2 separate regions of the Homo sapiens genome follow, and region 2 is linked to region 1. Evidence: promoter capture Hi-C in human tissues and cell types (Jung and others, 2019). All regions are on one chromosome and are shown on one strand. Each heading gives the region's core, a stretch centred on a gene start or on the middle of the fragment in contact. The rest is flanking DNA. Distances are from core to core; before and after follow the strand shown.

The links. The method cuts DNA at HindIII sites, captures the fragments that hold promoters and counts their contacts. A contact is called where the count stands out against the background at its distance.
Region 2: a contact is called between a fragment that was not itself captured here and the fragment with the promoter of SLC25A5 in region 1, in 1 of the 25 tissues and cell types used here (pancreas).

What each region holds. Positions count from the first base shown.
Region 1 is chrX:119,465,788-119,469,693 of GRCh38, forward strand. SLC25A5 (solute carrier family 25 member 5) reads left to right here and starts at 2,657. Exons shown (of 4, transcript NM_001152.5): 1 at 2,657-2,839; 2 at 3,874-3,906. The coding sequence starts at 2,729. It overlaps SLC25A5-AS1 (SLC25A5 antisense RNA 1), which reads right to left and starts at 3,333. Exons shown (of 1, transcript NR_028443.1): 1 at 246-3,333. RefSeq lists silencers at 2,337-2,716, 3,207-3,446. The HindIII fragment of the contact is 17,197 bases long and covers 1-3,906 here.
Region 2 is chrX:119,594,515-119,598,833 of GRCh38, forward strand. All of the region lies in intron 2 of NKRF (NFKB repressing factor), which reads right to left. Among named protein-coding and RNA genes, the nearest start is that of NKRF, 9.8 kb to the right of the region's middle. The HindIII fragment of the contact is 5,142 bases long and covers 100-4,319 here.

The DNA.
Region 1 (3,906 bases), core at 1,407-3,906:
CTGGGTGCAGTGGCTCATACCTGTAATCCCAGCAATTTGGAAGGCTAAGGTGGGAGGATCACTTGAGCCTAGGAGTTTGAGGCTGCAGTGAGCTATGATCGTGCCGCTGCACTCCAGCCTGGGTGACAGAATGAGACTCTATTTTCTATTTTCCTGGATGCTTGCTCCTTGTTTCTTTTTCCTTCTTTTTTAAAAAGTTTTTAAACTTTCAGACTTTTTTAAATGTTGCAAAAATAGTACAAAAATGTCCTTATATCCTTTATTCAACTTCTCTAAATCTTACATAACCACCATAACCAAGAATAGTATTGGTAATCTACAGATATTCAAACCTCACCAATATAACCAATGTCCTTTTTCTGGTACAGGAGCCGGTTGAGTGTCATATATTACATTCAGTTGTCAAGTATCTTTAGTCTCCTTTAATCTGTGACAGTTCCTTAGTCTCTTTGTCTTTCATGATCTTAACAGTTTCGAGAATATCTGACTCCTTAAAATACACGCGGTGATAGGTGACTACGGGAGCTCCAGCTCACCGTGGATTTAGCAAAATACCAAGTGATGACAAGAAGTTGCTTTTAAATGACCCATCTTGTATTTCATCGTCAATAAAACCACACTTAGTTACCCAAAGACTGAGAAGGGAAAAATTCTATGTAATTATTTGATCATCTTTTTTTGTGGAGAGAAAAAAAACTGACAAAACAATGAGCTCTGGAATAGAATACAGTAGAGGCATCATGCTCAAAGAGAGTAGCAGATGTGGCCAGGGAAAGGTCACATGTAGAAAAGGGATACACAAGTGATGGCGAGGTGTATCGAGGAATAATTAACAGTTGAATAAAAATGCATTAATCAGAATGTCAAGAGTTCAAACTAGAAAGATTTTGAATTTTAAATGCATTATAAATAAAATCCACCTCTCTCCAAATAAAGCCCTCTGTAGAATTTTGCTTTAGCTCTTGTTTCTCTCACCAGAATAGAGAAGCGAGTATCACCTTTGGAGGATATACTCTACCATTCTCTGAAACTGTTTTTTTGCATTCAGCTACCTCGCTATTATAATCAGCTGAGAAACACCATAGCCTTTCACTAACACAGGTCAAAGATTTCTCCCAGGATCAACAAAGCTAGATTCAAAATTGCTCCTTTGAACACATGCAATTTGTGTGCATCAGTTTCGATCGCTGGGGTTCTTGAGGAGACTAACAAATTGCAAAGTGTACTTTCAGAGGAAGGGCCTAACCATCCTGGGGGGTCCTAGAATTGGGTCCTTTCACAGGCAGATCTGGAGAAGATAGGAGAGGGCAGGAAAGGAAAGTGAAGGATATGAACACTATGTGTTCAGTGTGCAAAGGCCTGCTGGCATTTTGCCTATGGGAATTCTGAAGTCTGGGCACATAAGGTTCAGCTGCAGTTGCAGTTTTCAACAGTCGTCCTTATTTTTATAAACATTGTTATGATTATTCAGACACGGAACTTGTGATTACACTATTTGCTCCTGTTCTGAACTTGAGGGAGTCCACTTAAGCTAACAAGTAGGTTTTTGAGGACATGTGTGGCAAATGCTTACCCAGTGAAGGGATTAAGGGGCTCAGTAAGCACTTGTCCATTGGCACAATGGCTGCCAATCTAATTCTATTGATTCCTCTAAATGTTTCTGGAGTTCAGAAATCTATTCAATCCAAGGGCACTTTACCTGGGGTCCTGGGAGCCAAATGTTAACGTAGTTCTTAACCTTCCTAAGCCTCTTAACCTTCTGGGTACAACCTCTATATTTGTCTTCTGGCTAAAATCATTTCCCCACCCCCAGCCCAGTCCTTTGGACTCTCCCAGGCCAATTCCTGGCAAGATCTTTGTCGAACTGTATTTGCAAACCAGGGTCTGGGGCACGGTGGCAGTTCCTTCGTCTGCTGTTCCCTTAATTTCGTCTGGTTTCACTGGCTCCAGGACAGCACACGGTCTAGAGTGGGAAGAGTGAGGCATTCACCTTGGTGAAAAACAACTCAGTAATTAAGACAAATGATTTTTCATGTACTATTTTAAAAAAATCAGAAGCAATGCAAAAATCCATGATGAACAAATGATCAACATTTGAAATACAGACAGGATCCCAACCTGCACTTGCATGACCTTGTCTCGCTTGCCTCACCCTAAACCCAGCCTTGACACTCCAATTAAACTTTATTTACAAAACAAGGGGGCCGGCCAGTAGGATGTAGTTTGCCCATACGACTTTTTTAAAGTATCGCATTGACTACTGTTTATCTCGATGACTGAAGGGTTCTTTTGGCATCCCTGTAGCAAATGCGTCTCACCCTAGTCCTGGTCCTGCTCCAAGGGTTTTTGTCCAGGCACATCGTGACCTCACCCTTCCTCCCCTCTCCGAGGCCTCTCTCAGGGTCCAGCGTTCAAGTCCCGGGTGTTCTCTGGACCCGCCCCTTCCTCTCGCCGGGTCAGGTGCCGAGGGCGAGCACGGGCGGCGCGGAGAGCAGTCCCGGCCCGCCCTCCACGACTCCTCCTCCTGCGAGCTGGGCCACTCAGCGGCTCTGCCGCCCAGCGCGCCGGGGCCCAGACCCCGCCCCGGCCCCGCCTCCGACGCCTGCCGCTCCAGCTCCGGCTCCCCCTATATAAATCGGCCATTTGCTTCGCTCCGCCCCGCAGCGCCGGAGTCAAAGCCGGTTCCCGGCCCAGTCCCGTCCTGCAGCAGTCTGCCTCCTCTTTCAACATGACAGATGCCGCTGTGTCCTTCGCCAAGGACTTCCTGGCAGGTGGAGTGGCCGCAGCCATCTCCAAGACGGCGGTAGCGCCCATCGAGCGGGTCAAGCTGCTGCTGCAGGTACGTCCTGGGATCCAGGAGCCCAACCAGGAAGTGGGGGGAAGGGTCGCACAGAAGGCGGGCGCCCGAGGGGTGGCGGGGAGCGAACTCTAAAGACATGGCCAGGGAAGCGGCTTAGGAGAGGCCAGAGCGGGGCGCAGAGGCAGAACAGAAGTCAAACTGGTGGGAGGCGCCTTTAGTGACCTGAAGTAGTGAGTCTAGGAAGGGGCCGGGGGCAGAGGGCAGGACCAGGCTCTCGGCATCTCCGAGGCGGCGGACTCGGATGGAGCAGTTTCTGAGTGACGGCCTCCCCGGGCCTGGGCGTCAAGGGCGAAGGCCGAAAGCCGGCGTTAGAAAGAGGAACGCCAGTTCTTACCGAAGACCTCAAGGTCGCGGCAAGGAGATAACTGCCCGGGGGAGGCCATGCGCCCGGGTCCAGCGGCCTCCCAGCCCGCGGACGCGCTCAAACCTCGCCGGGCCGGAAGCCGGCGCCGGGAAGCGCGTGTGCCTTTTACGTCCGCCCCCGCGCAGCCGCGGCCGCTGCCGCCGCGTCTCCGCCTGCCTCCCTGCGCCGCGCGCTCTCCAGTGCCGGCTCTAGAGGGCGCTCCTGGGCTAGCGTGTAGGGCTGGCGGCGGCGGCGCTCGGGTCACCTCTGGGAGCGGAGTGGGGGCGGAGCGAGACGGAAGCAGCTCAGGAGACTTGAGGCGTAGGCTGCGGTCCCCAAGGTGACCGCGCCCTATGTGGGACTCGCCCTAATGCCTCTGAACCTGGGTTTGAGGTAATGACCTTTCTCCTAGGTCTGAAGGTCACGGGTCCGCTGGAGGATGCCCCCTCTCCACTCAGAGGGGTGGAGGCTTAATGCTACTGGTGCAGATCACCTCTTCCCCTGTGACAGCCTCAGAGGGTTGGGAGGGTCCAGCCAGTATGATATACGAAGACTAGATTTGAGAGAGGGGAGCCTACCTTAAAGGGCATTGATCGAGATGGCATAAGCTCTTCTCTTTCCCTTCCCCATGGTTATAACTGTCCCTGTTGGCTTCCTTCCTGTCTGTTAGGTGCAGCATGCCAGCAAGCAGATCACTGCAGAT
Region 2 (4,319 bases), core at 1,421-3,920, 130 kb after region 1:
AAACGAAATACTTCACCAAAGAGGATAGACAGATTGCAAATAAGCACATGAAAAGATGTTCATCACTAGCCACCAGGGAAATGCAATTTAAAATCACAATGAGGTATCACTATACACTTATTAGAATGGCCAAAATAAGTGACAATGGCTGGGCACAGTAGCTCACGCCTGTAATCCCCGCACTTTGGGAGGCCGAGGGGGGTAGATCACGAGGTCAGGAGTTCGAGATCAGCCTGACCAACATGGTGAAACCCTGTCTCTACTAAAAATACAAAGATTAGCCTGGCATGGTGGCATGCGCCTGTAATCCCAGCTTCTCAGGAGGCTGAGGCAGGAGAATCGCTTGAACCTGGGAGGCAGAGGTTGCAGTGAGCCGAGATTGTGCCACTGCACTTCAGCCTGAGTGACAGAGCAAGACTCCATCTCAAAAAAAAAAAAAAAAAAAAAAAAAAAAAAGTGACAATACCAAATGCTGGCAAAAATGAGGAGAAACTGGATCACTCAGACATTGCTGCTGGGAATGTAAAATGATACAGTCACTCTGGAAAACAGTTTGGTAGTTTCTTATAAAACCAAACATCAGGCCGGGTGCGGTGGCTCACGCTTGTAATACCAGCACTTTGGGAGGCCAAGGTGGGCGGATCACCTGAGGTCGGGAGTTCGAGACCAGCCTGACCAACATGGAGAAACCTCGTCTCTACTAAAAAGACAAAATTAGCCGGGCGTGGTGGTGCATGCCTGTAATCCCAGCTACTCTGGAGGCTGAGGCAGGAGAATCGCTTGAACCCAGGAGGTGGACGTTGCAGTGAGCCAAGATCGCACGATTGCACTCCAGCCTGGGCAACAAGAATGAAACACTGCCTCCAAAAAAAAAAAAAAAAAATCAGTTACCACTTGATCCAGCGATTGCAATTATACTCTTGGACATTTATTCCAGAGAAATGAGAACTTATGTTCACACAAAAACCTGTACACGAATGTTCATAGCAGCTTTATTTGTAACAGCCCAAAACTACAATCAGCCCAGATGTCCTTCAACAGGTGAATAGTTAGATTCTGGTACACACACACTATGGAACACTACTTGGGACAAAAAGGAACTTTTTTTTTTTTTTTAAACAGTCTCACTCTGTCACCCATGCTGGAATGCAATGGCGCGATCTCGGCTCACCGCAACCTCCGCCTCCTGGATTCAAGTGATTCTCCTGCCTCAGTCTCCCAAGTAGCTGGGACTATAAGCATGCACCACCATGCGGGGCTAATTTTTGTATTTTTAGTAAGACAAGGTCATCATGTTGACCAGGCTGGTGTCAAATTCCTGACCTCTCCGCAGGCCTCAGCCTTCCAAAGTGCTGGGATTACAGGCATGAGCCACCGCACCCGGCCATCTCTTTGTATTATTTCTTACAGTTGCATGTCAATCTATAATTATCTCAAGAAAAATTTCAGTTTAAAAAGCTGATCGGGGACTTTATCATCTTAATATCACTAAAAGTGGGACAACCGAACATGTACCCCACGATGTGATACAATAGGATATCACGGCACTATCTAGAAAGCGTTATGGCTCTCCAGAGAATTGAACCTGAAACTAATCAAGTTCCTGACTCCCAGAAACATGTGAAACACCACAAGAATGGAACTATCCAACTCCAGAATGAGGGAACAGTATGTGACAGCCCAGTTTCCTCATCAAATAAATACTGTAGAATGAAAATAAAAGGAAGAGGGAGTGGTTATAGGTTAAAGGAGATGGATCAATCAAATACATTGTATAGACTTTGTATCATGAATGAATCAAACGAGCTGTAAAAAGACATTTGAGACAAATGAAGAAAACTGAACATGCAATAGGCATTGGGTGATTTTTAAGAAATCACTGTAAATTTTGTTGAATATGAATAATGGTATGGTGACTATTTTTAAAAATTCTTATCTGATACAGATGTGTACTGAAGAATGTACAGGTGAAATGATGTCAGGATTTTATAAAATATACTCCAGACTATTGCCCACAAAAACCTAGGGCAGAATAGATGAAGAAGGGTAGCATGGCAGACTGCTGATGATTGCTGAGTGATGGGTACATGGGATTCATTAAACTCTTTTCTACTTTTGTGTGCTTGAAATTTTAAGGCAAAGCTTTAAAATATACAATTTAAAAAATGGCTCCTGGCTGAGCACAGTGGTTCATGCCTGTAATCCCAGCACATTGAGAGGTGGAGGTGGGCAGATCACTTGAAGCCAGGAATTCAAGACCAGCCTGGGCAACATGGCGAAACACCATCATTACAAAAAATAAAAATAACAAACAAACAGAAAACGTAGCCAGGCATGGTGACCCATGCCTGTAGTCCCAGCTACTTGGGAGGCTGAGGTGGGAGGATCACTTGAGCTGGGAAGGTCAAGGCTGCAGTGAGCTGTGATCACACCACTGCACTCCAGCCTGGGTGACAGAGTGAGACCCTGTCTCTTTTTTTTTTTTTTTTTTTTTTTTGAGAGGGAGTCTTGCTCTGTCTCCCAGGCTGGAGTGCAGTGGCACAATATCAGCTCACTGCAACCTCCACCTCCCGGGTTCAAGCACTTCTCCTGCCTCAGCCTCCCAAGTAGCTGGGATTACAGGCATGCGCCACCACGCCTGGCTAATTTTTGTATTTTTTAGTAGAGACAGGGTTTTGCCATGTTGGCCAGGCTGACCTTGAACTCCTGACCTCAGGTAATCCACCTGCCTCAGCCTCCCAAAGTGCTAGGATTACAGGTGTGAGCAACTGCACCCGGCTGAGACGGTCTCTTAAAAAAAAAAAAAAAAAAGGCTCCTTATGAAGATTGGCTGCTTGATAGAATAACATTTTACTACAGAGAAACAGAAACAGGAGCTCAAGTGAAGTGTTGGTTATGACGGTTACCTGCTCTCCCTTCCTACCTTCAGAGCCTTCCCCAGCCTAGGACCAAAAAAGAGATTCCTGGTAGCATTTGGGAAGAAGTTCTGAAAATGAGTAACTATCATACCTTTACATGAATCAGTTCTGAACCAGAAGGAGGGTAACATTTTCCATTTTCAGTAGAACAGGTTGCACACCCATCACGTATCATTCCACGCAAAGCAGAAGTCAAGGCACGGTGGCCTCCCCGACAGACTGCTGGAAGCTAGCTCTGTTGTAACCTGTACTTCCCACTGACAACTGTTGCTGCTAAAGCTAGCACGAGTATTTAAATACCAAGAGTAATTTTATTTTCATTGACTCTTATCTGAACATCAGAAAGCACAGTCTAAAACACAATATGGCTGGGCGGGGTGGCTCACACCTGTAATCCCAACATTTTGGGAGGCTGAGGTGGGCAGATCACCTGAGGTCAGGAGTTCAAGACCAGCTTACCCAACATGGTAAAACCCCGTCTCTACTAAAAATACAAAAATTAGCTGGGTGTGGTAGCAGGCGCCTGTAATCCCAGCTACTCAGGAGGCTGAGGCAGGAGAATTGCTTGAACCCGGGAGGCGGAGGTTGCAGTGAGCTGAGATTGCACCACTGCACTCCAGCCTGGACGACAAGAGCGAGACTCTGTCTCAAAAATAATAATAAAATAAAATAAAATAAACACAATACATTCTACATATCACTTCCATTCAAATTTGGGAGTACATATTTCCAAAGTATGAGATAAAAACAAAAGCCGGGCGCGTGTGGCTCACGCCTGTAATCCCAACACTTTGGGAGGCCAAGGCAGGCAGATCACCTGAGGTCGGGAATTCGAGACCAGCCTGACCAACATAGAGAAACCTGTCTCTACTAAAAATACAAAAATTAGCCGGGTGTGATGGCGCATGCCTGTAATCCCAGCTACTTGGGAGGCTGAGACAGGAGAATCGCTTGAACCTGGGAGGCAGAGGTTTTAGTGAGCCGAGATCGCACCATTGCCTTCCAGCCTGGGCAACAAGAGTGAAACTCCATCTCAAAAAAAAAAAAAAAAAAAAAAAAAGTCTATGAAAATGAGATGAGTCTATAAATCTTAAACTACTAATCCCACGCCTGTTACCAAAAGTGGCCCTACAACCAGGCAACTTACCTTGAATTCCAGTCAATATTCTCCAGACCTTCAGTTAGAGCCCGATTCCAAGTACAGTATACAACTGCAAATGGCATATATGTCTTACGGTGTGATGCACTTAGGGCTCACTCATTCATGCTCACTTTTCTCAGGTTTCTTCCAGCATTAGTAATTATTCTACCTACTTACTATACCCTATTCATTACATCTGCCACAAAATTCAACTTCACCCATAGGCCATAAAAATAAGTCTTTACATAGGTTGCTGATAC